Linked DNA regions of Homo sapiens: regions 2, 3, 4, 5, 6 and 7 are each linked to region 1. The links are contacts of gene promoters, found by promoter capture Hi-C in blood cells and fetal thymus (Javierre and others, 2016). All regions are on one chromosome and are shown on one strand. The core of a region is centred on a gene start or on the middle of the fragment in contact, and the rest is flanking DNA. Distances in the headings are between cores, read along the strand shown.

Region 1 (3,600 bases), core at 595-3,094:
GGCATGATTATGACTTACCGCAGGCTTGAGCTCAAGTGATACTCCCACCTCAACCTTCCAAGTAGCTGGGACCACAGGCATGCCACCACACTCGACTAGTTTTCGTATTTTTTTTTTTTTTTTTGTAGAGACAGGGTCTCGCTATGTTGCCCAGGCTGGTCTTTAACTCCTGAACTCGAGATCCCCCTGCCTAAGCCTCCCAAAGTGCTGGGAATACAGGTGTGAGCCACCATACCTGGCCTAAAAAACAGATTTGAGATGAAACTTGCATGCCATTCAATTCATTCATTTAAAGTGTACAGTTCAGTGTTTTTTAGTATATTTACAGAGTTGTGCAACCATCACCACAATTTAGCTTTAGAGTATTTTCATCTCCCCAAAAATTAACCTGTACCATGAACTGACACTCCCCATTCCCTCTTCCCAACACTCCTCTTCCCAGAACCACTCATCTACTTTCTATCTCTATTGATTTACCTATTTGGGAGATTTCACATAAAGAGGTCATACAATATGTGGTATTTCATGACCGCTCCTGACTTGGCATGTTATCATCGTCATTCCTTTTAATTGTACATATTTGCAAGCTCTACATTATATTATTGCTTTGTATATATGCAAATTCATTTGGATATATACACCTTAGGTAAACCTTTGATATTTTAATTTTGGTTACACTGAACTTAAATTTATCTGTGAAAGAGAAAAGACATCTTACAATATTGAGTCTTCCTGTTGAAGAGAACAATATATTTTTTCATTGATTTAAGTTTTATGTTCTCCCAGTAGCATTTTAAAGTTTTCTTCATCTAGGTTCTCTGTATTTTTTGTTGAATTCATACCTAGATATTGCTGCTTTTTGTATATTTTTTTCTTTTGGATAGTTGGGCCTTCTCTTCTTCATTAGAGTAGAGATGAGTGGTTTTGTCAGTGCTTTCTTTATGTGACCTCTGTAATAGGTAATTTTCCCTTAAGTCTGATATACAATATAACTATGTACATAGACATATATGAAACAAGGAAAATTTATGACAAGAGCCAAATAGTGTTTCTGACAAATAATTCACAGAAGCCCAGCGATTTTATTTTGATCCAAATTTTAAAAACTGAGAAAAGAAAGAAAAAAAGCAATGATGTTTGTTTTCCAGAGTTTCCCGGGAAGTTTTTTCAACTTGTTACATTTTTATCCATTACTTTACAGCTACATGGGCTCTGGTCCATTTGTGTCAGGGCCAAGTTCATCTTGTTTTGAGGCCTGTACACTTACACACTTTCTTCTGCCTGGGAATGATTTCTCCTCACATTCTGATTCTCCTTCAAATCTCAGTTTAAGTGTCAACTCCTCTCCAAACCTCCCTGAGTGAAGTGGGCCTTTCCCTCCATTTTCTTTCACTGTACTACTTCATCCCCTGAGCACTCATCACAACCTAATAACATCTATTAACAGCTTTGTCTGTTTCAGACACACAATGTAGATTCTCCAATGCCTACCAGAGTACCTGGCACATACTATGCCTTCAATAAATAATTTTCAAAAAAATGAATTCAGATAAGGCAAATGTAATTTAAACTTTCAGTTAACTTATATTGAATGTATATGCCAGGCACAAGTCATGGTGTATTTTACATACTACATTTGGTTGTCATCTAATTAGCTCTGAAGGTCGCAGATCCATAATTCCAAAGTCCTCTCTAATCCTATAAATTTTCTCCTTCTACCTGAGGGTCTTGTCCCGCCCCCCACATCTTCTCCGCCCCTCACGCTTCTGAGAGCCCAAGCAGGGTTACCCGGCGAAGACTTCCGGGGCCGATGCGCATGCGCGGCCGATTTGCACATGCGCAATACTCGCGCTGCCTCCGTGGTCCCTGCCTGGCTGAGGTGGCAGCAGGGGGCGGGACGCGCAGCGCTATGGCAGAGGGCAGCGGGGAAGTGGTCGCAGTGTCTGCGACCGGGGCTGCCAACGGCCTCAACAATGGGGCAGGCGGGACCTCGGCGACGACCTGCAACCCGCTGTCGCGCAAGCTGCATAAGATCCTGGAGACGCGGCTGGACAACGACAAGGTAACCGGGGCTGGCGGGGCCGGAGTCACAGGTTCCTGCGGGGCTGAGCCGGGCCAGGGGCGGCGTCTGTCAGGGACCCACCGCGGTCTCCCTCGTCCCGGCAGCAGAGGGACCGCGAGTGACCCCAGACCTGCGGGCTCCGCTGCTCTGCGGGCGCCGGGGGCGGTGAGAAGGGGGAGCCCCAGCAACCTCCGGAAAAGCGAAGGGGTTTCCTGGGTGTTCTCTCCACCTGAAAAGGTGCCTTCAAGGCTCTCTGGATGGGATTGGTGAACGGTGGTGCCTCGAGAAGTGTCCTCCAAACACCCCTGGAGGCGTTTGGCTGTGTGAGCTGGGAGAGTGGAGGAGAGCACAAGACTGGATATGAAACAGATGCAAAAGAGCAGATTCCAAGATAAGGTAGCGCAAATGGGGGTCGGGAGACCAAGAGAGCAGTGGTAGGGATAAGGGTGCATTTCCACGGACAAGTGACAACAATTGCAATAATTTGCAGCGCGAAAGAACTACCTTTGCCCGTGGCTGAAATGAACTCATATCTACTAGTTTTTGTTGAGCCAAGCGCTATGATTTGTGGGCTCAGGCTGTATTTCTTTAGAAGATAAACTGACAGCATGCTCTCACAAGTACCTCCTGAAACTTAAGTTGGACTTTACAGCTCCTCACATACCCAGCCATCTCTTCTGTCTCTGTGGGTCGCTAGGTAAATTGGTCATGACAGTGTAACATAAAGAAGAACATATGTCAAAGTTAGAGAGTTTTATAGGTGAATATGTAGGTAACTGAAAATAAGCTGTCGATAACAATTTGATTCCGATATGTAAAAAAATAACATTGCAATGTAATGAATAAGAAATTAGGGCTCTGGAGACTACCACTTATTAGATAGAACCACTAAATGTGTGCATCATGATTTGAGTAAGTCCCTTCACTAATCTCAGCTTCTGTTTAGGAATTAGGAATCCTGCTGTTAAGTTTCTCATGGTTGTTATTTGAGGACTCAGTGAGAGACTCCAGGTAAAGTCCTTTGCAAAGAGCCTGGCACTTACTCTTTCTTAACAAATATTAATTTTATCATAAAATTTATGAAGTGTTTAATGTGTCTCATATTGATATTTATTATATCATTTAAGACTGCTACTTGCTCTGATATAGATAACATGGCCTTCTTTTTTGGACAGAGTTTTGCTCTTTTTGCCCAAGCTGGAGTGCAATGGGCGCAGTCTCGGCTCACTGCAACCTCTGCCTCCCGGGTTCAAGCGATTCTCCTGCCTCAGCCTCCCAAGTAGCTGGGATTACAGGCATGTGCCACCACGCCTGGCTAATTTTGTATTTTTATTAGAGACGGGGTTTCTCCATGTTGGTCAGGCTGGTCTTGAACTCCTGACCTCAGGTGATCTGCCCGCCTCAGCCTCCCAAAGTGCTGGGATTACAAGGCGTGAACCACTGCGCCCGGCCACATAACCTTCTTTTTACCATGAGGAAAATAAAGCATGGAGAGAGTGCAGCTAGGTTGTCATATAACTAGTAACTGGTGGAACTGT
Region 2 (3,600 bases), core at 733-3,232, 1.3 Mb after region 1:
GTGCCTCAGCTATTTGGGAGGCTGAGTCAGGAGGATCGCTTGAGCCCAAGAAGTTGAGGCTATGATCATGCCACTGCACTCCAGCCTGGGCAACAGTGCGAGCCTCTTTGTCTTTAAAAAAACAACAGCAACAACAACAACAACAAAAATGTTTCACTTTATTTATTTTGCAGACTAGCTTGGGGAGAAATGATATCTTTCCCTTGTATTGCCTTTTCCTGTCCATGAACACAATTGCTTGCTTCATTCATTCCGTTTCTCATATCTTTTAGTAAACTTTTATAATTTTCTCCATAAATTCTTGGCATCAGTTTATTGAAACCTTGGGAGGAAGGACAGACAAATACTTAAGAAGTCATTGATAAAATATGTTTTCATATTCAAATGACACAACTAAATATGCCAATGTACTTCGCTTGGTTAATTTAAAGAAGGTGAAGAATAACCATGCTGGATTAGGGGACATTTCTTGAAGGATAGTTGGTCTTCAACTCGAAGAGTGAAAATATTTAGTCACTTATCCTGTGTTACCTAACATCTTCCTATGAAAGGGATCATTTTCATTCATTTGAAAGAGAAAATCTTCCCAATCTAATGTCGAGGCCATCCTTAAGTAAGCGTGTTACACTTGATAATTTCCTTTCGAACTGAATCTAACAAGACTATCTTATTTGTATCTTTTTCACAATAAAGCTTTCCCAAAGAGAGGTTTATGAATTTGTGCACTTTACAAAGTTTTATATACGGATTTGTGCACTTTACAAAGTTATACTTTAATAAAATAGAAAAAAGATTTAAAGCAAAATCACTAATAATCAAAATTTAAAATGTAAAAAGCCATGACATTTACAGTAACATAAAAAATATTAAATACTAAAAAGTAAATCTGACAAGAGATATGCAAGACATGTGCACTGGAAACTATAAAACATTGCTGAAAGAAATTAAAGAAGACTCGGGAGGCCGAGATGGGTGGATCGCCTGAGGTCGGGAGCTCAAGACCAGCCTGAACAACATGGAGAAACCCCGCCTCTATTAAAAATACAAAATTAGTCGGTCATGGTGGCACATGCCTGTAATCCCAGCTCCGCGGGAGGCTGAGGCAGGAGAATCACTTGAACCCAGCAGGCGGAGGTTGCGGTGAACCAAGATTGCGCCACTGCACTCCAGCCTGGGCAACAAGAGTGAAACTCCGTCTCAAAAAGAAAAAAAAAAAGAAAAGAAAAGAAAGGAAAAGAAAAGAAAAAGAAAAAAAGAAAAGAAAAGAAATTGGCCAGGCGCGGGGGCTCACGCCTGTAATCCCAGCACTTTGGGAGGGCGAGGCGGGCGGATCACGAGGTCAGGATATGGAGACCATCCTGGCTAACACGGTGAAACCCCGTCTCTACTAAAGAAATACAAAAAAACTAGCCGGGCGTGGTGGCGGGCGCCCGTAGTCCCAGCCACTCGGGAGGCTGAGGGAGGAGAATGGGTGAACCCGGGAGGCGGAGCTTGCAGTGAGCCGAGATTGCGCCACTGCACTCCAGCCTGGGCGAGAGAGCGAGACTCCATTTCAAAAAAAAAAAAAAAAAATTAAAGAAGACTGAAAAATGGAGAGCTCCTCCAAATTGATGAGTCAAAGACTCAATATTGTTGAGATCTTCCGAGACTGACCTATAGACTCAACATGATCCCAATCAAAATCCCAAGTGGGGCTGTAATCTCAGCTACTGGGGCCTGAGACAGGAGGCCAGAAGTTCGCTTGAGGCCAGGAGTCCGAGACCAGCCTAGGCAATATAACAAGACCCCATCTCTGAAATAAAATAAAACTAAAAATCCCAGAGGCTTTTCCCTTTTAGAAGTTGACAAACTGATTGTAAAATTCAAGTAGAGGCCGGGCACGATGGCTCATGCCTGTAATCTCAGCATTTTGAGAGGCCGACGTGGGCGTATCACCTGAGGTCAGGAGTTCGAGACCAGCCTGGGCAACATGGCAAAACCCCGTCTCTACTAAAAATACCAAAATTAGCCGGGCGTGGTGGCAGGCGCCTGTAATCCCAGCTACTTGGGAGGCTGAGACAGGAAAATTGCTTGAACCCGGGAGGCGGAGGTTGCAGTGAGCCGAGATCGTGACACTACACTCCAGCCTGGGCGACAGAACGAGACTCTGTCTCGGGAGGAAAAAAAAAAAAAAGCAAATTGTACAGCTTTCCCATGAGATGCAAATTCAGTAAGTATGGGGTGGAACCAAAAAATTTGCATTTTAAGAAAAACATCGGCAGGGTACAAGGGCTCACTCCTGTAATCTCAGCACTTTGGGAGGCTAAGCGGGGGCGGATCTCTTGAGCCCAGGAGCTGGAGACCAGCCTAGGCAACATGGCAAAAACCCCTTTCTACAAAAATACAAAAAAAAAAAATTAGCCAGGCACAGTACACACCTGTGGTCCCAGCTACTCAGGAGGCTGAGGAACTCTTGAGCCCCAGGAGGCGGTGGTTGCAGTAAGCCAAGATTGTGCCACTGCACTCCAGACTTAGTAACAGAGCGAGAAACTGTCTCAAAGAAAAAAAAAAAAGGATAACACTGAAATAGTTGGCCTAGGAACCCAGTTTGATGGAGGAATTTGAATGGTAAGCTAAGGATTTTGGACTTTATCCTACAAGTAGAAAGGTATTGAGGGTTTCCATATATGAACATTATGTATTCCCAAGGGATATTTTTATTTGATTTTTTTGAGACAGGGTCTCATTCTGTCACCCAGGCTGGAGTGCAGTGCTGTAATCACAGCTCACTGCAGCCTCAACCTCCCAGGCTCAACAGATCTCCCACTTCAGCCTCCTGAATAGCTGGGACTACAGGCTCTTGCCACCATGCACTGTGATATTTTTACTTTTTCTGGAGATGGGGTCTCACTATGTTGCCCAAACTGCCAAGGGATATTTTAGAAAGACTATTCTGTAAATAGGTGCATGATTGTGATACAATAAAAACATTTTATTTGGCTTTTATCCCTAGGTTCCTGACACCCTAGCTTCTGAAACCTTTGGCATTTAGAAGGGAAGAGCATCTTTTGTTATTCGTAACAAGCTCCTTTCAACCATACCTGAGTTTATGCTAATAAGGTGGACACTTCATGGGTCCCCAGATAGTTTCAGGATGGGAAATGATTTCCAGAGAAACCAACCATGTAATTAGAATTGGAACTTTCAGTCCCATCCCCAAGGAGAGGAGAGGGTGTAGAGATTGAGTTCAATCACCAATGGCCAATGATTTAATCAGGCATGCCTATGTAATAAAAGCTTCATTTAAAAACTCGTAAAATGATGGTGTCTGGAGAACATCTAGGCTGGTAAACACTTTGAGGTGCTAGGTGGGTGGCACATCGTGAGACGGCAGAGCAGCTCTGTTCACTTCCTCCCATTCATTGCTTTATGCATTTTTCATTTGGCTGTTCATGAGCTCTATTCTTTATAATAAATTGACATAAATGTAAACCAGTAAATTGGTTCCCTGAGTTTTGTGTGCTCTTTTAGCAAATTATCCAACCTAAGTGGGTGGGGGTCATGGGAACCCCTGATTTATAGCTAGCTGGTCAGAAGTACAAGTGGAAACCTGGGACTTGC
Region 3 (3,600 bases), core at 661-3,160, 1.1 Mb after region 1:
CTAGGTGTCAGTCTCTGTGGTTGGTACTGGTGTTCAGAACAGTCTTCTCTCACTTGAGGGCACAGTGAGCGCCGTGACCATATCATTTGTGGTAAATTACACGGGAAGTTAGCTTACCCTTGCAGAGGACGGGAGACAGTTGTTGCTAGCATTTGTACATTCATTAGCCTCCCCCTTCTCCCTGTTGGAAATGTAACTGTCCCAGCTACACAGCAAATGTGTATTCTAGTAACCTGTGATGCCTGAACTGTTCAAGATGATCAAGTTAAAATATGAATGTGCTGAATTAAATGCTTTATTCAGCTTATCTGCATCTAGGCTCTCTGAATTACGCACCCACTTAAAACATTCTGTCACCTTTTCTCTTGGAATAATTAAATTATTTTAATGTAATTCAGATTTCTTTTTATCCTAGCCCAGCATTACCTGGGAGAGAATGACTCAGGATTAATCATAATAAAATCATATTAAATTATATTCCACTAATTCAGAATTGGGGATAATTTGGCAATTAAAGGCGGAAGTGTGTCATTCCTCTCCTGTAAGAAATGAACAGTAATGATGGGCTCACAGAGATCATATTGCTTGTTGCTTAAAAAAGAGATCAAGCAGTTTTCAGACTCTGGAATTGTTGGCTTATTTGCCAATAAATAATTGAGAATTATTCTTAATGTCCCTTCCCCCAACTCCACTTTCCAGAGTTTAGATGGAATAACTGTGTATAACATCAAATTCAGGAAGTTGCATTTCTTAAATATTTTCTGTAAGCCTTCTTTTGCATTTTGATGAAGCTTTAAGAGCTCCTCTCAGGTCCAGAAGGAGACGGTAAACACTAACCACTGGCAGTTCCCACGACGCCAACCCTACTACAGGGTGTGGGGATGTTGTAGGGTGGTTACAGTTCATTCTTCTCTTCTGTTTAGAATTTTTACTAAAATGATTTCACGTGGCTGGGCATGGTGGCTTATGCCTCCCAGCATTTTGGGAGGCCAAGGCAGGAGGATCATTTGAGGCCAGGAGTTAGAGACCACCCTGGCCAACATGGTGAAACCCCATCTCTATGAAAAGTACAAAAATTAGCCAGGCGTGGTGGTGGGTGCCTGTAATCCCAGCTACTTGGGAAGCTGAGGCACAGGAATTCCTTGAACCTGGGAGGTGGAGTTTGCAGTGAGCTGAGATTGCACCACTGCACTCCAGCCTGGGTGACAGAGCAAGACACCATCTCAAAAAAAAAAAAAAAATTATTTTGTGCAATGTAGACTCTGCTGTATTTAATCTTATAGAAGTATATAAATAAAGGATTTAAGCATAAATAAATTTCAGTTCATTCTCTATTTACATACACGTTATTAATCGGTAGAGCTCAAATTAAAGAGGTTTTTCTATAGAATGAAATATTTAGCTCTTTGGGGATTAATTAGCCAGACTCCTTGTTTCCTTTCCGTGGTGCCGGGTCTGATCAGTCCCACTGGGCATTAGGCAAAGTGAGCGATGAAGTCTTCCCAGGTCTCCCCTCCCTTTCTGTGGTTTCCGTTTCTTGTGCACACAGTAGCTGCTGTTTACTGATTACGTAGCCGGTGCTGTGCCAAGCCTGTCTCCTCCATTTTTATTTAATCCTCACGCTAACCCTGTGAGGTGGCATGGATGAGGAGCTGAGGCTCAGAAGTTACATGGCTTGTCCAGGATCTCACAGCAAAGCCATAGTCCCTCTGACCCTATTGCCCAGGCTCCTACATATTCACTGCACTGTTTGCCGCTGTTGAACACATGTCTGTCTCTCTCCCCTGCCTGGCATGAGCTCCTTCAGGGTGGGACTTAGATGCCAGGCACATCAAGGACCTGCTCTAAATTGTTTACTGGACATGGCTGGAAGGTTTTGGAGGAAAAGAGGTTGAAATGAACCGAAGCAGGGGTAAGTTCTGGGGTAGGCTGCCTGTGCCTTCCTTCCATGGATAATGGAACTGTAGCCTCGTACTAGAGCAGTCATCTGTCCTGATTGCAGGAGGTACAGCATGTGTACTGACCGGGCAGCCCTTTGACACAATGAAAGTGAAGATGCAGACGTTCCCTGACCTGTACCGGGGCCTCACCGACTGCTGCCTGAAGACTTACTCCCAGGTGGGCTTCCGTGGCTTCTACAAGGGTACCAGTCCAGCACTAATCGCCAACATCGCTGAGAACTCAGTCCTCTTCATGTGCTACGGCTTCTGCCAGCAGGTGGTGCGGAAAGTGGCTGGATTGGACAAGCAGGCAAAGCTGAGGTGAGTCAAGGACACACACTTTTTTTATTTGTTTAAAAAAACCCCACAAAACTGGCAAGACATGGTGGCTCATGCCTGTAATCCCAGCACTTTGGGAGGCAAAGGCAGGAAAATGGCTTGAGGCTGAGAGTTCAAAACCAGCCTGGGCAACACAGCAAGATCCTCATCTCTACAAAAAAATAAAAATTAAAAAAAATCTACTGTTGTATGGTCACAATTTTACTGGTGCCTTATGTGGAAGAACATTTCCTTTTTTAAAAATAACTGCTTTCCTTTTATTTATGAAGTTATACATTGTCATCATATAAAACTTAGAAACCACATATGCACACCACAGAGGAGACCTGCTCATCATCCACCACTGAGAATGAACCGCCCTTCTGTTTCAGTTTTCTCCAGGAGAATGCTGTTCAGATGCAGCTGGCAGTGCTACCTCTCGTCAGCAGACATGCTGCACTGAAACTGTAGATGCTGCTTATGATCCAAGATTTAGCTTTTCTTTCATTAGCAAAAAGCAGAGTATTGGAAGAGGTTGTCTGAGCCAGATGAACTTGAGGAGTTTTAGGAAGGGTCGGAAATGTCTGCGAAGATGCAAGGGAACCCACCTTTCTCTGTCCAAATCTTCCCAAAACATCAGACTTTGCCTCTTTGTTGGTCTTGCCTTGGGTATTTATTATATAGAGACTAAACAGAATTTGGAAACCACTGGGATGTTTAGCTATCCCTGCTTTGAATGTTGATTTATTTTATACCACTTAAAATTATTATATAAGCTTCAAGATTGCAAAGGGCAGTCTTAGTTATTTCAGTAGGAGTTTGAAACCTGATTGCAGCTGCAGGTCCCACACAACTGAATTCGGTTTCTTGTGCACAGCACTGTTCTCTGGAGGTGCCTGGAGGTCTGAAGGTGTGCCCTTTTATAGACAGGAATTCCACCATGATGGGTAGAGCTTGTTTTTTAAAAAGGCTTGGGACTAGATACGATTGCCCAAGAAGACAGTGTAGACAGCGAGGAGGGCTGAGCATGAATGGGATGAGCCTCCAGCACAGAAAGGGCAGGCAGGAAGGCAGTAAAGAAACAAGCAGGGCACAAACCAGGAGAGTATGGCATGCCATGATGGAGACTGAACAGAAGCAAAAACTACAGGCAACTGTAGTTTTGTTCCCTGTTGAAGGAGAGACACTCTATTAGAGAAGACCTGGAATTCAGTTCAGTTTCCTTAGCAAAGGACAAAATGGGGAGAGAAGACAGGGAAACAGTAAGCAGCCACGTGAGATTCTGGGGAAGACCTGTGTCTTCTGAGCAAAGTAGCCCCTCCAGCCACAGGATAGACAGTGA
Region 4 (3,600 bases), core at 584-3,083, 1.1 Mb after region 1:
GATTTTAAGTGCATGGAAGACCAGGATCATGTCACACTAATGTGTATGGCACAGCATATGACATAGAACTATGCTGAAACTGTGCTTAGCACATAATTTTTGGAGATGACAGAGATATGACCAGGCAGAACTGTCCTCAGGTCAATTTCTAAAGTACATCAAAGTACTCTGGTTCCCCCCGCCCATCCTCTTGACTTCTTGTACTCATTCTCTCCTGTCCCTTGGCCTGTCTCTATGTTGCCTTTTAGCTTCTCAGAGCCTCCTTGCTTTGGGTCTCACCCAGGCCTGACACCCTTGCCAAGACCTCTCTATATTAGCCTTTCGTCCCCTCTCCTACCTGCCAAACTTCTCTGTCATCTGTCCACCAGGGGGAGGGCTATATTATTCAACTAACACTAATGTACGAAAACCCACATTGCTAGCTTATTGTACTAACTATCTCAAGAAAATTTAATTTTTAAAAGAGGTGCTTGCAAATTTCAATAAGCAAAGGCTTCGTCTGAGATTATTTTCTTTTTGCATTCCTGGCCCTCTCAAGTTATGCCTTCGGGAAACTGCTTCTCTAAGGGCTAACCCAAGCTGGCCCTTAGATGTATTTGTTATGTTCAAGTGCCCTCTGGAGGCAAAAACAGTCTCCTATTAGATAAAAGACAGGTCTGCCAAACACCCACAAATGATTGGTCCCTGTGCTGTGGGGTCCATTCATTCCTTTCCATCTTTCTTTGTGCAGGTCTAGCACAGCCCTGCCTCCGGGCCTTCAGCTTAGGCACGGAATCTTCTTTGGCCTGGAATAGCCATTCTAAAGACTGTCCCACGATTGGTTCCTTCACATCATCCACTTTAGCTCAGCAGGGCTTTCTCAGGAGTGCACCACATCTAGCCAAGCCAACCTTCCCACTCTGTCATGTCATGCTGTTTCCTTGTCTTCCTGCATGCAGCACTATCTGAAATAATCTTCCATTCATTCAACACATTCCTTGAGTGCCTGATCATATGCCCTGTCTTATGCAGTTGAGATAGATCAAGGTACAAATACAACACGTTCTCTATCCTAGTGGAATTTACAGGCCTTGTGAATTACATGGTTTCCTTTTTCATCATCAGCCTCCCGGCTAGAATGTAAGCTCTGGGAGAGCAGGGACCTCTGTCAGCCTTGTTCACTACTTTATCCCAAGAGCCTAGAACTGTGACTGGTACATCCTTCATGGTCAATCAATATTTGTGGAATGAATAAACAAATGTTTATATTAGCCAGGCACAATGGCTGTAGCAAGAGGATACCTTGATGCCAGGAGTTCAACACCAGCCTGAGCAACATAGCAAGACTCCCATCTCTAAAAAAAATTGATTTTTAAGTTTATATTTTCTATCAGGATACACAACTAACATTTTAAACTTCTTTTGCCGTGACAAAGTTAATTCATTCCATTATCACAACTATAAAAAATGAGGCAAATTATATACATCATTATTATTCAAATGATCAGTAACAACAATAGTTAGCATTTGTTGACCACTTACTAAGTACTAGAGGCTATAAGTGCTTTATATGTATTGTCTCATCTTCACAAATTTTTCTGAGGCAAGTAACACCATTCTCCCTTTTTTTTTTTTTTTTTTTTAAGACGGAGTCTGACTCTTTTGCCCAGGTTGGAGGGCAGTGGCACAATCTCGGCTCACTGCAACCTCGACCTCCTGGGTTCAAGCGATTCTTCTGCCTCAGCCTCCAGAGTAGCTGGTACTATAGGTGTGCGCCACCACACCCGGCTAATTTTTTTTTGTATTTTTAGTAGAGACGGGGGTTTCACCATATTGGCCAGGCTGGTCTCGTACTCCTGACCTCAAGAGATCCACCTGCCTCAGCCTCCCAAAGTGCTGGGATTACAGGTGTGAGCCATTGCATCCGGCCCATTCTTCTCTTTTTAAGATGAGAAATTTGAGGCTTACAGGAGCTTCTTACCATCGCAAAGTCATCAGGTGGGAGAGCCAGCTTTTGGGGACTGGTCAGTCGACCCAGAGTCCATGCTGTCAACCTCCACCACACAGCCACGTTCACATCATGATGTCTGCATCACTCAGCAGCTCCCTCTACCATCTTCTAAAGAAACTCTACACTCTCTTAGCAGGGCCTGTGAGACCCCACGAGATCAGCCCCACCTCCTTTGCTAGTCTCCTTCCTGTTACTTCTCCTCCTACCCTGACCAGAGCCCCTGTAGCTCCCGGACACGGGACATGGTCATGGCTTCCCCACCTCCTTGCAATCTTATGGTGTGTTCCCTCCTTCTGCCCTGCCTAACTCCTCCTCCTGCTTCAAGGCTCAGCTCTTGCCCCCTCCAGACCCTTTCCTGGTGCTCTGGGTGCCCATGCACTGCTGCTCCCAGCTCCTTGTGCCTGGCTCTGTGATTCTTAGTGAATGGAATGAGGTGTGGCTTTTCATCTCCAAATTTCCAGTGCTTAATTGGAACAGAGAGGTTGGCAAAATACTTTGAATGATGGTGCATTTGGGAGTTGGCCATGTTTTACAACTTTAGGCACAGTGACGAAAAGAATACTATTGTAAATAAGAGGGTTAGGGCTGGGCACAGTGGCTCATACCTGTAATCTCAGCACTTTGGGAGGCTGAGATGGGAGGATCATTTGAGGCCAGGAGTTCGAGACCGGCCTGGTCAACAAAATGAGGACCCCCCCCCCTTCTCTACAAACAAACACACCAACAAAATAATTTAAAAATTGGCCAGGTGTGGTGGCACATGCCTATAGTTTCAGCTACTTAGGAGGCTGAGGCAGGAGGATCATTTGAACCTGAGAGCTCGAGGCTGCAGTGAGCTATGATCAAGCCACTGCACTCCAGCCTGGGCAAGAGAGCGAGACCTTGTCTCTAGAAATAAATTAATTAATAAAATAAAATAAGAAGGTTAGAATGTGGCCCATGGAAGTCCTCAAAGGTGCAATCACATGAAGCTGAGAAGCAGCGGCATGGAGCAGGGAGTACTTAGAGCGTCACCTGGCAGAACCTGATCTTTCCTCTTATTCCCACCCCAAGAGACTTTTCTGACTCATCCAGCTGGAAGCAGAGAGGCTAGGATTTTCCCTTCAGGTGTCTGACCCAGAGCCTTCATGCTAAGTCCTAAGGTGGTGTCTCAACTGTGCTGGGCCTTTATTTGTGTGTCCTTTCAATGGTTGTATCTGCCTACGTTTGACCAGAATAATTAATTTAATGAAAGCACTTTAAAAATGTTTATAAACAGCTAAGTATCTAGTGATGGGTGCCATATAAATATTTAGATACAAAGGGTCTAAATTCAGATTATTTTTACTGGGGGAACCATTATTAATGTAATTATAAAATAGTACATTGCAGATATGTACACACGAGAGAGAGAGGGGAGAGAGAGAGAGAGAGAGAAGCTGTGTACACTTGCTACTTCACAACAATGATACAATTCAACAGATTTATGACAATGATCCCTTTAGACAGATACTAAAACTCACCAGGGGCAGAGCCCTGGGCCAGTCAAGGAGAAGTCACAGCTCCTAGGCCTCAGCAGGGAACGCTAAGATACAAGCACTTGCCCTTCCTGGGTGGAGTAGTTCACACCT
Region 5 (3,600 bases), core at 492-2,991, 1.1 Mb after region 1:
GCAGACAGATCACTTGAGTCAGGAGTTCGAGACCAGCCTGGCCAACATGGTGAAACCCCATTTCTACTAAAAATACAAAAATTAGTTGGGCGTGGTGGCGCACGCCTGTAAGTGCCGGCTACTCGGGAGGCTGAGGCAAGAGAATTGCTTAAAGCCAGGAGGTGGAGGCTGCAGTGAACCAAGATCACGCCACTGCACTCTAGCCTGGGAGACAGAGCGAGACTCTGTCTCAAAAAAACCAAACCAAAACAAACAAAAAAAACAAAAAACAAAAAAGAGAGATTGCTTATTACACCATTAGTTTAGTGAAAAGTGAAATGATTTTTGGAGAAAACTTTGGTGTTCAAAAAAGTATTCAATTCAATTTCTGACAAAGGCAAGAATTCTCAACTATTAGGTACCGGTTTTATATAAACTTTGAAATGTTAAATGTTAAAATTAATGGATATTTGCTGAAGCACAACACTAACTCAGAACAATATATTAAGGTGGAGGGGTGAGGGACAGATCAGCCTCAAAAATTATAAATTAGTGGAATTTTTAATTAGATGTTATTGTATTTCAGAAACAATATATATTGTAAGCAAATATAAAGGCAGGTTAACCAGTTCGCAGAAACTTTACTGGAACCAACCTAAAAGTCTATCATCAGAACAGAAAAACAAATTGTGATATATCCATACAATGGAAGAGTACTCAGCTCATGACAACATGAATGACTTTCACAGGCATTAGATCAAGTGAAAGAAGTTGGACACAAAGAATATAAAATATAAAAATTAGCCAGGCATGGCAGCACATGCTTGTAAAATCCTAGCTACTCTGGAGGCTGAGACATGAGAATCGTTTGAACCTGGGAGGTGGAGGTTGCAGTGAGCCAGGATTGCGCCACTGCACTCCAGCCTGGGTGTCAGAACTAGACTCTGTCAAAAAAAAAAAAAAAAAAAAAACTGTATGATTCCATTTATATCAAGTTCCAGAACAGGGAACACTAATCTGAGGTGAAAAAAAAATCAAAACAGCAATTGCCTCAGGACTGATGGCTACTGACTGGGAAGGTAAAAATGAAAAATGTAGTGTTTTGCTAAGTGTGTGGGTCACAGGGACTTACCTGTTTCTCAAAATCCTACAGCTAAGATTTGTATACTTTAATACATGTAAATTTTACCTGAAAAAAAGAGCCATAAATCATCATCAAGTAGGAGATGGAAAGTGGGTGAAGGCATAGGACATACAAGAATGGCAAAATGTTGATCACTGTTGAAGCTGGGCAACAGTAGAAAGGCGTTATACCATTTTGTGTTCTTTGCATATGTTTTAAATTTTTCATAAGAAAAAGCTTTTAAAAGCTTCCTAAATTAGAGCAAGTTAATAGAAAAACATTCTATTATAAAAAGAAAATAAACTATTTACAACATTTTTTCCTTTTTTTTTTTTTTTTTAAGAGACAGGGGTCTCAATATGTCGTCAAGTCTGGCTTCAAAGTCCTGGGTTCAAGCAATCCTCCCATTTCATCCTCCTGAGTAGCTGTGACTATAGCCAACTGCCACCATGCTTGGCTATTTGCAACATTTTTTAACTCACTGAGAACTGACATCTCAATGAGTGGGATCCAAATTAATGTTTTACTATACCTGGCTTTCTATATTATGATACGTTACCTAATACGAAAGTTAAACTTCCCAAATTCCTGAAGTTCTTGGAGAAAGATTTTAAGGACTTAACTAAGTTATGAAAGATCTAAAATCTGATAGGAATAGAAGAAAAAGAGAAGAATTAAACAAGGGGTCGGGCACGGTGGCTCATTCCTGTATAATTCCAGCACTTTGGGAGGCTGAGGCGGGAGGATCGCTTGAGCCCAGGAGTTTGAGACCAGCCTGGGATAGAGAAAAAAAGAAAAGAAAAAAAAAAATTAGCCAGGTGTGGTGGCATGTGCCTATAGTCCCAGCTACTGGTGAGGCTGAGTGGGAGGATCACTTGAGCACAGGAGGTAGAGGCTGCAGTGAGCCATGATTTTTCCACTGCACTACAGCCTGAGGCACAGAGTGAGAGTCTGTCTCCAAAAAAAAAAAGAAAAGAAAAATAGAGAAATATAAGTTAAAATAAAATGTGCTTTTAAAACTTATCTGTGAATAAAGCTTTAACCTTGTTCCAAAGTCATTGTATTTCTTTCATAAACTACTTGTGAACTTCATTTTCAAATTTTAATATATTTGATCAAAGTATACACAGAACATAGATGAATATTCATTTTCTAGAATCATACATTTCATAACAATGGTTTCCTATGTAGTTATACTCTCTGGCTTTATAATTTGAAATGTTCTAATTAATAAAAAATTGTGGGGGAGCCTCTGTCATTGAATAATTTTTACATACAGGGATCTTTCTTCATATATTTTAACAATGTAAGGAGAACTTGTTAAAGTATCTTTTAACAATCTATTCTATCCTGTAATTAAAACCATTTCATTAATACAAACTTTTCCCCTTCATAACATTCTGTACTTTTTAAATTTCTTTAAAATAAACTGTATGACATACAATTTCAGAAAAGAATTCTGATGAGGGAAAGAAACTGAGTGGATACTTAAATTGGCACCGCTTTTGGCAGGCAACTTGGTGCCATATATCAAAGGCAAAAAATATATATATGCACATCTCTTGACCTAGCAATTCCACTTCTAAGAATATGTGTTTAAAGAAAATAAACAGAAAAAAAAAAAAAAGAAAGAAAGAAAGAAAAAATAAACAGCTGGGCATGGTGGCTCACGCCTGTTATCCCAGCACTTTGGGAGGCCAAGGTGGGCAGATTACTTGAGTCCAGGAGTTCATGACCAGCCTGGACAACATAGTGAAACATCGTCTCTACAAAAAGAAAAAAAAAAAACTAGCCAGATGTGATGGTGCATGTCTGTAGTCCTAGCTACTCGGGAGGCTGCGGTGGGAGGATTGCTTGAGCCCAGAGGTAGAGGCGATTGTGCCACTGCACTCAAGCCTGGGGAATAGAGCAAGACTCTGTATCAAAAAATGAAAGAAAAGAAACAAATTTGTGGAATTTGAAGGATACTGCATACTCCAACCTCAAGGCCTAAGCAGTTCTATCCTCTATGCCTGAAAAGGAATTCATCTTTCAGATATCTACATGGCTTTATCCCTAATTTGATTCTAATCTTTGCTCAAATGTTACCTTATCAGAGTTCTTCCCTAATTATTCTTAAAAATAGCACCTCTCCAGCCCCCTCATTCTTTTTTTTTTTTTTCCCACCCAGGCTGGAGTACAGTGACACAACCACAGCTCACTGCAGCCTCAACCTCCTCAGCTCAAGTAATCCTCCTGCCTCAGCTTCCTGAGTAGCTGGGACTACAGGTGCATGCCATCACACCCAGCTATTTTTTTTTCATTTTTTGTAGAGACTGGGTCTCACTATGTTGGCAGGGCTGGTCTTAAACTCCTAGACTCAAGCAATCCTCCTGCCTCAGCCTCCCAAAGTGCTGGGATTACAGGCTGTGCCTGGCCCAACTCCATCACTCTTATTTTTCTTCATGTTTCACCACCTGACATAGTATAGACATTGTGTGTGTGTGTGTGTGTGTGTG
Region 6 (3,600 bases), core at 464-2,963, 1.1 Mb after region 1:
CCTTTATTAGCTATCTACTGGTGTATAATGAATTACCTCACACTTAGTGGCTTAAAACATGTACTTATTAACTCACAGTTTCTGTTGGTCTCCTGCTCAGGGTCTCACAAGGCTGTAATCAAGGTGACAGCCAGACTGTGGTCCTTTTTAAAATGTAGTGTCCTCTTCTAAGTTCAGGTGGTTGTTGGCAGGATTCAGCTATCTGAGGCTGTAGGATGGAGTCCCTGCATTGTTCTGGCTGTCAGCTGGGGGTTTCCATCAGCTCCTAGTGGTCCCCAAGGTTTCTTGACAGGTGGCTCATTCACAGGCCTTTTTACAACATGATAGTGCACTCTAGTCCGCTAACAAGGAGTCTTCTGTAACATCACATAATCACAAGAGTAACTATTCCATTACTTTTGCCATATAATATGAACCAGTCAAAGGAGTGACTACCCCATCACCTTAGCCATATTCTATCGTTGAAAGCAAGTCTCAGGTCTCATCCACACTCAAAGAGAGGTTGTGATTTACTTGGGGTTACTATAGGGTGGATTTCCAATCCTAATCACCTTTTTTCTTGCTATTCTGCATAGGCTAGGCCCCCAGTACAATGCTGAAATCATGATAGTGATTATCCTGTTCTTGTTTATAATCTTAAAGGAAATCATTTCGTAATTCAGCATAAAGTAAGATATTTGTTGTAGGCTTTTTGTAAATGCCACTTATTAGGTTAAAAAAGTTCTCTACTCCAAGCTTTCTAAAATTTATTTTAAAAAAATTATCAATGGCTGCCAAGGTTTACCAAACCTTTTTTCCTGCATCTTTTGAGATATGATCTTTTTCCTCCATTGTTAAACTGCCCTGATATTCTGGAACAAACTCAGCTTGATAATGATTTCTAGTCATTGCTGAATTTGCTTTACTATCTTCCTTTGGATTTTTCAAATTTGTCTTCATGATTAATTGTAGAGTGCTTCCTCTTTTTCTATGTTTTGGAATAATTTATATAAAATTGGAATTATTTTTTTCCTGGATGTTCAGTAGAACGTTCCTGAAAACTTCTCTGGGTTTAGTGTTTGTTTTCTGGGAAGATTTTAAAATATCCATCAAATTTCTTTAATGATTGTTCCATTTTTCCTTTAAAATTATTTTTGCTAACATAGTTTTGAGTAATTTGCCCATGAAATTTTGAAATTTATTGCCACGAAATTGTTCATAATAGCTTCTTGAAAAATAAATCTTAATTTTTACATCAATAGTTATTCACATTTTAAAGTTTTTTTTAAAAAATGATTTCCTCAGATACGGGGTCTTGCTCTGTCACTCAGGATGGGGTACAGTGGCACGATCATAGCTCACTGCAGCCTCCAACTCCTAGGCTTAGGCAATCCTTCCATTTCCCTCCCAAGTCACAAGGATTACAATGTGAGCAACTGTACCCAGCTTTTTTAAAAAATAAATCTGGACAGAAATGCATTTGTTTTTTTAAAAATGAATCCGTGTTTGACTTTATGGATCCTATTATACTATTTCTATTAACTTCTGCCTTTACCTTAGACATTTCATTCTATTTCCCTTTAAGATTTACTCTTATTAGATCTCCTAATCACCCCATCTCAGTTTTCTGTTTATATTGTGTTAATATTCCATTTGTAATGTGAAGCTAGTAGGATGTTCCTTTTTGGGGGGTTAATGGGAGTTCATCTTGACATCATAAAAGTGTAAAAATCAAAACCAAATAAGCATATATTTCATGTAGGCCAGGCATGGTGGCTCACACCTGTAATCTCAACACTTTGTGGGGCTGAGCAGGAGGATAGCTTGAGCCCAGGAGCTCAAGGCCAGCCTGGACAACATGGTGAGACTACAAACGAAAACATTATTAGCTATGCATGGTGGTGTGAGCCTGTGGTCCCAACTACATGGGAGGCTGCAGTGGGAGGATCACTTGAGCCCAGGTCAAGGCGGCAGTGAGCCATGTGCCACTGCACTCCAGCCTGGGCAAGACTCTGTCTCAAAAAAAAACCACCACCAACAACAACAGAACAGATTTAAAAAAAAAAAAAAAAACACCACTTGTTCCTTTTCTTATATCTTAAGATTATAACCTTACTTCATTGATTTTCATTCTTTTTTTCTTTTTGAGATGGAGTCTCATTCTGTCGCCCAGGCTGGAGTGCAGTGACGCAATCTCGGCTCACTGCAACTTCCACCTCCCAGGTTCAAGCGATTGTCCTGCCTCAGCCTCCCAAGTAGCTGGGACTACAGGCATGTGCCACCACACCCGGGTAATTTTTGTATTTTTTAGTAGGGACAAAGTTTCACCATGTTGGCCAGGCTGGTCTTGAACTCCTGATTTCAGGTGATCTGCCTGCCTCGGCCTTCCAAAGTGCTGGGATTACAGGCGTGAGCCACCGCGCCTGGCCTGAATATTTTTTTCACTGGCCTATGAATAAGTTAAAAGGGTTTTAAAATTTCTCAACATAGGGAGTTTTCCTGATTAGCGTTCAGTTACTGGTCTCTAACTTACTTGCAATGTAATTGGAAAACATGTTCTACATTCCATTGAAATGTGTCTAGATATGCTTTATGACTAAGTTTATGATTGATTTATCAACATGTGTGCTTGAAATAAATGTATTTGCAGCTATTTAGATCACTGTGTAATGGTCTACAAATTTCCATTAGGTCAAGATAATTAGGTATAGCAAAGCTTCTGTTTGTCTGCTGAGTTCATCAATTATTACGTTAAAATATTTTATCATAATGGTATATTTATTTGTATTTCTATCAGCTTTTGCCTTGTATATTTTGAGTCATGTTATTAGGTATGTACAACTTTGTATTTTTCTGATAAACAGAATTTTTTTAAGTTTCTAATGTCTTTCAGACTATTTTTTTCCTGATATTAATATAGCTATACCAGCTTACCTTTTACTTTCAACCTTTCTGTATTCTTGCTTTACATATAACTCCAGTAAATAGTGTTATCACTTGACATTTAAAAAAACCCAGCCAGGTGCAGTGGCTCACACCTGTAATTCCAGCACTTTGGGAGGCCGAGGCAGGTGGATTACTGGAGGTCAGGAGTTCATGACCAGCCTGGCCAACAAGGTGAAATCCCTTCTCTAATAAAAATAAAAAATTAGCCAGGCGTGGTGGTGTGTGCCTGTAATCCCAACTACTCGGGAGGCTGAGGCAGAAGAATTGCTGGAACCTGGGAGGCGGAGGTTGTGATGAGCCTAGATCGTGTCACTGCACTCTGGCCTGGGCAAAAAGAGCGAAGCTGTCTCAATAAATAAATAAAAATATAAATAAATAAATAAATAATCCACTTGGACATATTCTACTGTCATGTATTTTAATTAATTCCATATGGTATGACTGTTTTATTAGTGCTTAGAATTAAAATATATATTCACTACTTTTTTTTTTAATAGCAGACAGCTTATTGAAGGGCAATAGAGAGCAGAGAGTTTATAAAGACATACTCTGAACACTGAGGCAGAGCACACTGCTGAAAGAGAGTGAGCCAGCAGCATACTCACTGCTTTATTCATCTGCCATTTTCTTCTTGCATCTCAGGCCTTAAATTTAAAATCATTTCTCTTCTGCCTG
Region 7 (3,600 bases), core at 702-3,201, 1.0 Mb after region 1:
GATTATTTTGAAACAAATCCCAAACATCATGTCATTTCATTTGTAAAACAATAATAGATTTGGAGTGCTTATGTAGCTCCCTCTAGGAAATGAATTTCTAATTAGGGTACTTCAGATACTAAGTAATCTTCCCTAGAATGTGGGTTTCTAATTAGGGCACTCCAAATGTGAATAGCATCTAGAGTATAGATTAAAGTTAATCTACACACACATACATTACACTGGTAATTCTAAAGTACTTTAAAGGAAATCGCCATACAGACAATCTACCACTGTGAAACTCAAAGGTAGAGGAGAATTAGTGGGTCTTGTCTGAGTAGCAGAAGCTTGAGAGACACGGCGCTCGGGGTTGATGATTTTGTTTTGCTCTTGCGAGAATGGGGGAAGGGAGCTATCAGGAAAAAGAGGTAATTTGTGAAGAAAGATGAAGACCTTGAGATAATGTTGGACACAACAAGAAACAGACCATTATGAATACATGACTGGGGCTCAGAGAGAGGTCAGGCTGAGTGTTCGCATGTAAGAGTCATTCTTATGGAAATAAGAATTGAAGCAGGAGCAGAAGTGGTTTCTCCAACTGAGAGTGGGAAAAGAACAGAATAACCAGAGTTTATTTACGTTGGGGAGAGGAAAAGGTGCCGTTTATCTGACAGAAAGGGAGTTGGGGCCGGGCGCGGTGGCTCACGCCTGTAATCCCAGCACTTTGGGAGGCCGAGGCGGGCGGATCACGAGGTCAGGAGATCGAGACCACGGTGAAACCCGGTCTCTACTAAAAATACAAAAAGAATTAGCTGGGCGCGGTGGCGGGCGCCTGTAGTCCCAGCTACTAGGGAGGCTGAGGCAGGAGAATGGCGTGAACCCGGGAGGCGGAGCTTGCAGTGAGCCGAGATCGCGCCACTGCACTCCAGCCTGGGCGACAGAGCGAGACTCCGTCTCAAAAAAAAAAAAAAAAAAAGGGGGGAGTTGGGCCATGACACCTACAATTTACATTACCTCCTATATCAGGCCGGGCACCGTGGCTCATGCCTGTAATCCCAGCACTTTGGGAGGCCGAGGTGGGTGGATCACCTGAGGTCGGGAGTTCGAGACCAGCCTGATCAACATGGAGAAACCCCATCTCTACTAAAAATACGAAATTAGCCGGGCATGGTGGCGCAAGCCTCTAATCCCAGCTACTCTGGAGGCTGAGGCAGGAGAATCACTTGAACCCAGGAGGCTGAGGTTGCAGTGAACCGAGATCGCCCCACTGCACTCAAGCCTGGGCAACAAGAGCAAAACTCCGCCTCAAAAACAACAACACAACAAAAACATTACCTCCTTCATCACAGAGAGTGTGGTAGAAAGGGTTGTATGTTACACTCTTGGGCAGGGTTCTTAGCCCCTTGCACATGGACTCCCTCGGTAGTTGGGAGAAACCTGTGGACTCCCTCTCAGAACAGTGTTCTTAAATGCATAAAATAAAATACATAGGATTACAAAGGATGCCAATTATGTTGAAATACAGTTATCAAAATAGTTTAACATGTGATACAATAATAAATATTATTCTTTGATTGACACATTAAATAACAAGATCTAGTGGCAGGTGTAATAATTACTATAATTTTGAAGTAGTAATGAGCATAAATTATATTTTGAGATACGTGCAACAACTCTAATGTGAGATGAAAATAACTGTGACTTCTATGGGTGACAAAGTCATAGGTACTGCTAATACTACTGTGTTTTGTTGTGTGACTTCATAATGGAAGGAAGTGCTAATTTTCAGTTAGAGGTGAATGGAAATAAGAAAGCATTTTTTTTTCCTATTCAAGTTCACCAACCACCTCCCAACCCCCCAAACATCATGGGACCTTCAACCCCAGGTTAAGATTTCTGTTCCAGGGTTAGTCGGTCAAATTACTTCATTCATTTAACAACTATGTTTTGAATGTCAACCTGGGCTAGACATGGAGAAACGAGAATAAATAAGCTGCAAGGAGCTCATGGTGAAGTTAGGGAGACCAGCACATAAATAGATGCTCCTTCTTAAGGAGCATCTTAAGCTCCTCTTCCTTCTTAAGCTCCTCTTCCTCTCCCTCTTTCCTAATATCCAAGTCTTGAACACACCATCTTCTTGCCTCAGGGCCATCCTATGTGCCATAGCTTGCCTTGGATGTCCTCTCCTCACCCCAACACACATACACAATTCACAGAGCTTGTTCCTACTCATCTTTTAGTTAGTTCACAACTTAAACATCACTTCTTCTAGGAAGACTTCCACAACTCTCCCCCAACTGCGTGATACAGTGGTTCAAAGCACTTAACTAGTCCTTCTTGATGGACACTTCAATTATCTCCAGTTTTTAATCATTACCAGCAATGCAGTCACACATAGACACACACACACACACACACACCCACACCATTGTATACTTGTACTTCTATTTCTGATGGAAACTTTTTAGAAGTGGAATTGTTAAGACAAAATAAATGCACATTTTGCATGTCCATCAATACTACCAATTGCTCTCAAATAGGTGCTATAGAGGATCTGCTTTCTCACACTCTTAATTTTTTTTTTTTTTTTTTTGTGAGACAGAGTCTCGCTGTGTCACCCAGGCTGCAGTGCAGTGGCTGTGATCTTGGCTCACTGTAATCTCTGCCTCCTGGGTTCAAGTGATTCTCCTGCCTCAGCCTCCCAAGTAGCTGGGATTATAGGCGTTCACCACCACTCCCAGCTAATTTTCATATTTTTAGTAGAGACAAGATTTCACCATGTTGGCCAGGCTGGTTTCGAACTCCTGGTCTCAAATGATCCACCCACCTTGGCCTTCCAAAGTTCTGGGATTATAGGTTTGAGCCACTGTGCCCAGCTTACTCTTAACAATATTATCAATCTTTTAAACATTTGTTAATATTTTCATAAGATGGCAACAATCTCATTGTTAAGTTTACTTTTTTCTCTTTTTTGTTTTTTGTTTGTTTGTTTGTTTGTTTTGAGACAGAGTCTCACTCTGTCACTCAGGCTGGAGTGCAGTGGTGCGATCTTGGCTCACTGCAACCTCCGCCTCCTGGGTTCAAGCGATTCTCCTGCCTCAGCTTCCTGAGTAGCTGGGACTACAGGTACATGCCACCAAGCCCAGCTAATTTTTTGTATTTTTAGTAGAGACAGGGTTTCACCGTGTTAGCCAGGATGGTCTCGATCTCCTGACCTCGTGGTCCACCGGCCTTGGCCTCCCAAAATGCTGGGATTATAGGCATGAACCACTGTGCCCGGCCAAGATTTTTGATTATCAATGAGATTGAACATTTTGTAATTCTATTATTTAAAATATAAGACGTAATTATTTTGACATTATGGATAGAAGAATGTGAGATGGAAAATAAAACAAAATTAATATTCCTGCTTAAAAATAAAGGAGCATTTTAGGAAGGAAAGCACTTTGATATAAATGGCATTTGTACCTAAAGCATTTTTTGGAGTAAACAAAACATTTTAAACCATGCTTAAAGCTAACCATATATATTGGCTGTTTTGCTTCAGATTATTACTGAAGATGCTGCATCATCCTATATTGGTAAATCTTCTGATATATAAGCTTTATAATCATCAAAGAA

The links. The method cuts DNA at HindIII sites, captures the fragments that hold promoters and counts their contacts. A CHiCAGO score of 5 or more calls a contact.
Region 2: a contact is called between a fragment that was not itself captured here and the fragment with the promoter of COG6 in region 1, in 1 of 17 cell types (non-activated CD4 T cells). The highest score is 9.0, in non-activated CD4 T cells.
Region 3: a fragment that was not itself captured here is called in contact with the fragment with the promoter of COG6 in region 1 in 1 of 17 cell types (activated CD4 T cells); the score reaches 6.5 in activated CD4 T cells.
Region 4: a fragment that was not itself captured here is called in contact with the fragment with the promoter of COG6 in region 1 in 6 of 17 cell types (naive B cells, total B cells, naive CD8 T cells and 3 more); the score reaches 11.2 in naive B cells.
Region 5: a fragment that was not itself captured here is called in contact with the fragment with the promoter of COG6 in region 1 in 13 of 17 cell types (total B cells, naive B cells, naive CD8 T cells and 10 more); the score reaches 12.5 in total B cells.
Region 6: a contact is called between a fragment that was not itself captured here and the fragment with the promoter of COG6 in region 1, in 2 of 17 cell types (non-activated CD4 T cells and activated CD4 T cells). The highest score is 7.1, in non-activated CD4 T cells.
Region 7: a fragment that was not itself captured here is called in contact with the fragment with the promoter of COG6 in region 1 in 5 of 17 cell types (naive CD8 T cells, total CD4 T cells, naive CD4 T cells and 2 more); the score reaches 7.5 in naive CD8 T cells.

The regions. Positions count from the first base shown.
Region 1 is chr13:39,653,818-39,657,417 of GRCh38, forward strand. It overlaps COG6 (component of oligomeric golgi complex 6), which reads left to right and starts at 1,845. Exons shown (of 19, transcript NM_020751.3): 1 at 1,845-2,062. The coding sequence starts at 1,910. RefSeq lists a silencer at 2,109-2,158. The HindIII fragment of the contact is 8,496 bases long and covers 1-3,600 here.
Region 2 is chr13:40,925,835-40,929,434 of GRCh38, forward strand. No RefSeq gene overlaps it. Among named protein-coding and RNA genes, the nearest start is that of ELF1, 92 kb to the right of the region's middle. RefSeq lists an enhancer at 2,224-2,343. The HindIII fragment of the contact is 2,583 bases long and covers 692-3,274 here.
Region 3 is chr13:40,797,055-40,800,654 of GRCh38, forward strand. SLC25A15 (solute carrier family 25 member 15) reads left to right here. Exons shown (of 7, transcript NM_014252.4): 3 at 2,003-2,261. It also overlaps the pseudogene TPTE2P5. Among named protein-coding and RNA genes, the nearest start is that of SLC25A15, 9.2 kb to the left of the region's middle. The HindIII fragment of the contact is 2,243 bases long and covers 790-3,032 here.
Region 4 is chr13:40,777,018-40,780,617 of GRCh38, forward strand. No RefSeq gene overlaps it. Among named protein-coding and RNA genes, the nearest start is that of MRPS31, 7.6 kb to the left of the region's middle. RefSeq lists an enhancer at 230-279. The HindIII fragment of the contact is 7,552 bases long and covers 1-3,600 here.
Region 5 is chr13:40,759,207-40,762,806 of GRCh38, forward strand. All of the region lies in intron 2 of MRPS31 (mitochondrial ribosomal protein S31), which reads right to left. Among named protein-coding and RNA genes, the nearest start is that of MRPS31, 10 kb to the right of the region's middle. The HindIII fragment of the contact is 789 bases long and covers 1,348-2,136 here.
Region 6 is chr13:40,722,810-40,726,409 of GRCh38, forward strand. No RefSeq gene overlaps it. Among named protein-coding and RNA genes, the nearest start is that of MIR320D1, 3.3 kb to the right of the region's middle. The HindIII fragment of the contact is 1,960 bases long and covers 734-2,693 here.
Region 7 is chr13:40,698,294-40,701,893 of GRCh38, forward strand. No RefSeq gene overlaps it. Among named protein-coding and RNA genes, the nearest start is that of MIR320D1, 28 kb to the right of the region's middle. The HindIII fragment of the contact is 3,255 bases long and covers 325-3,579 here.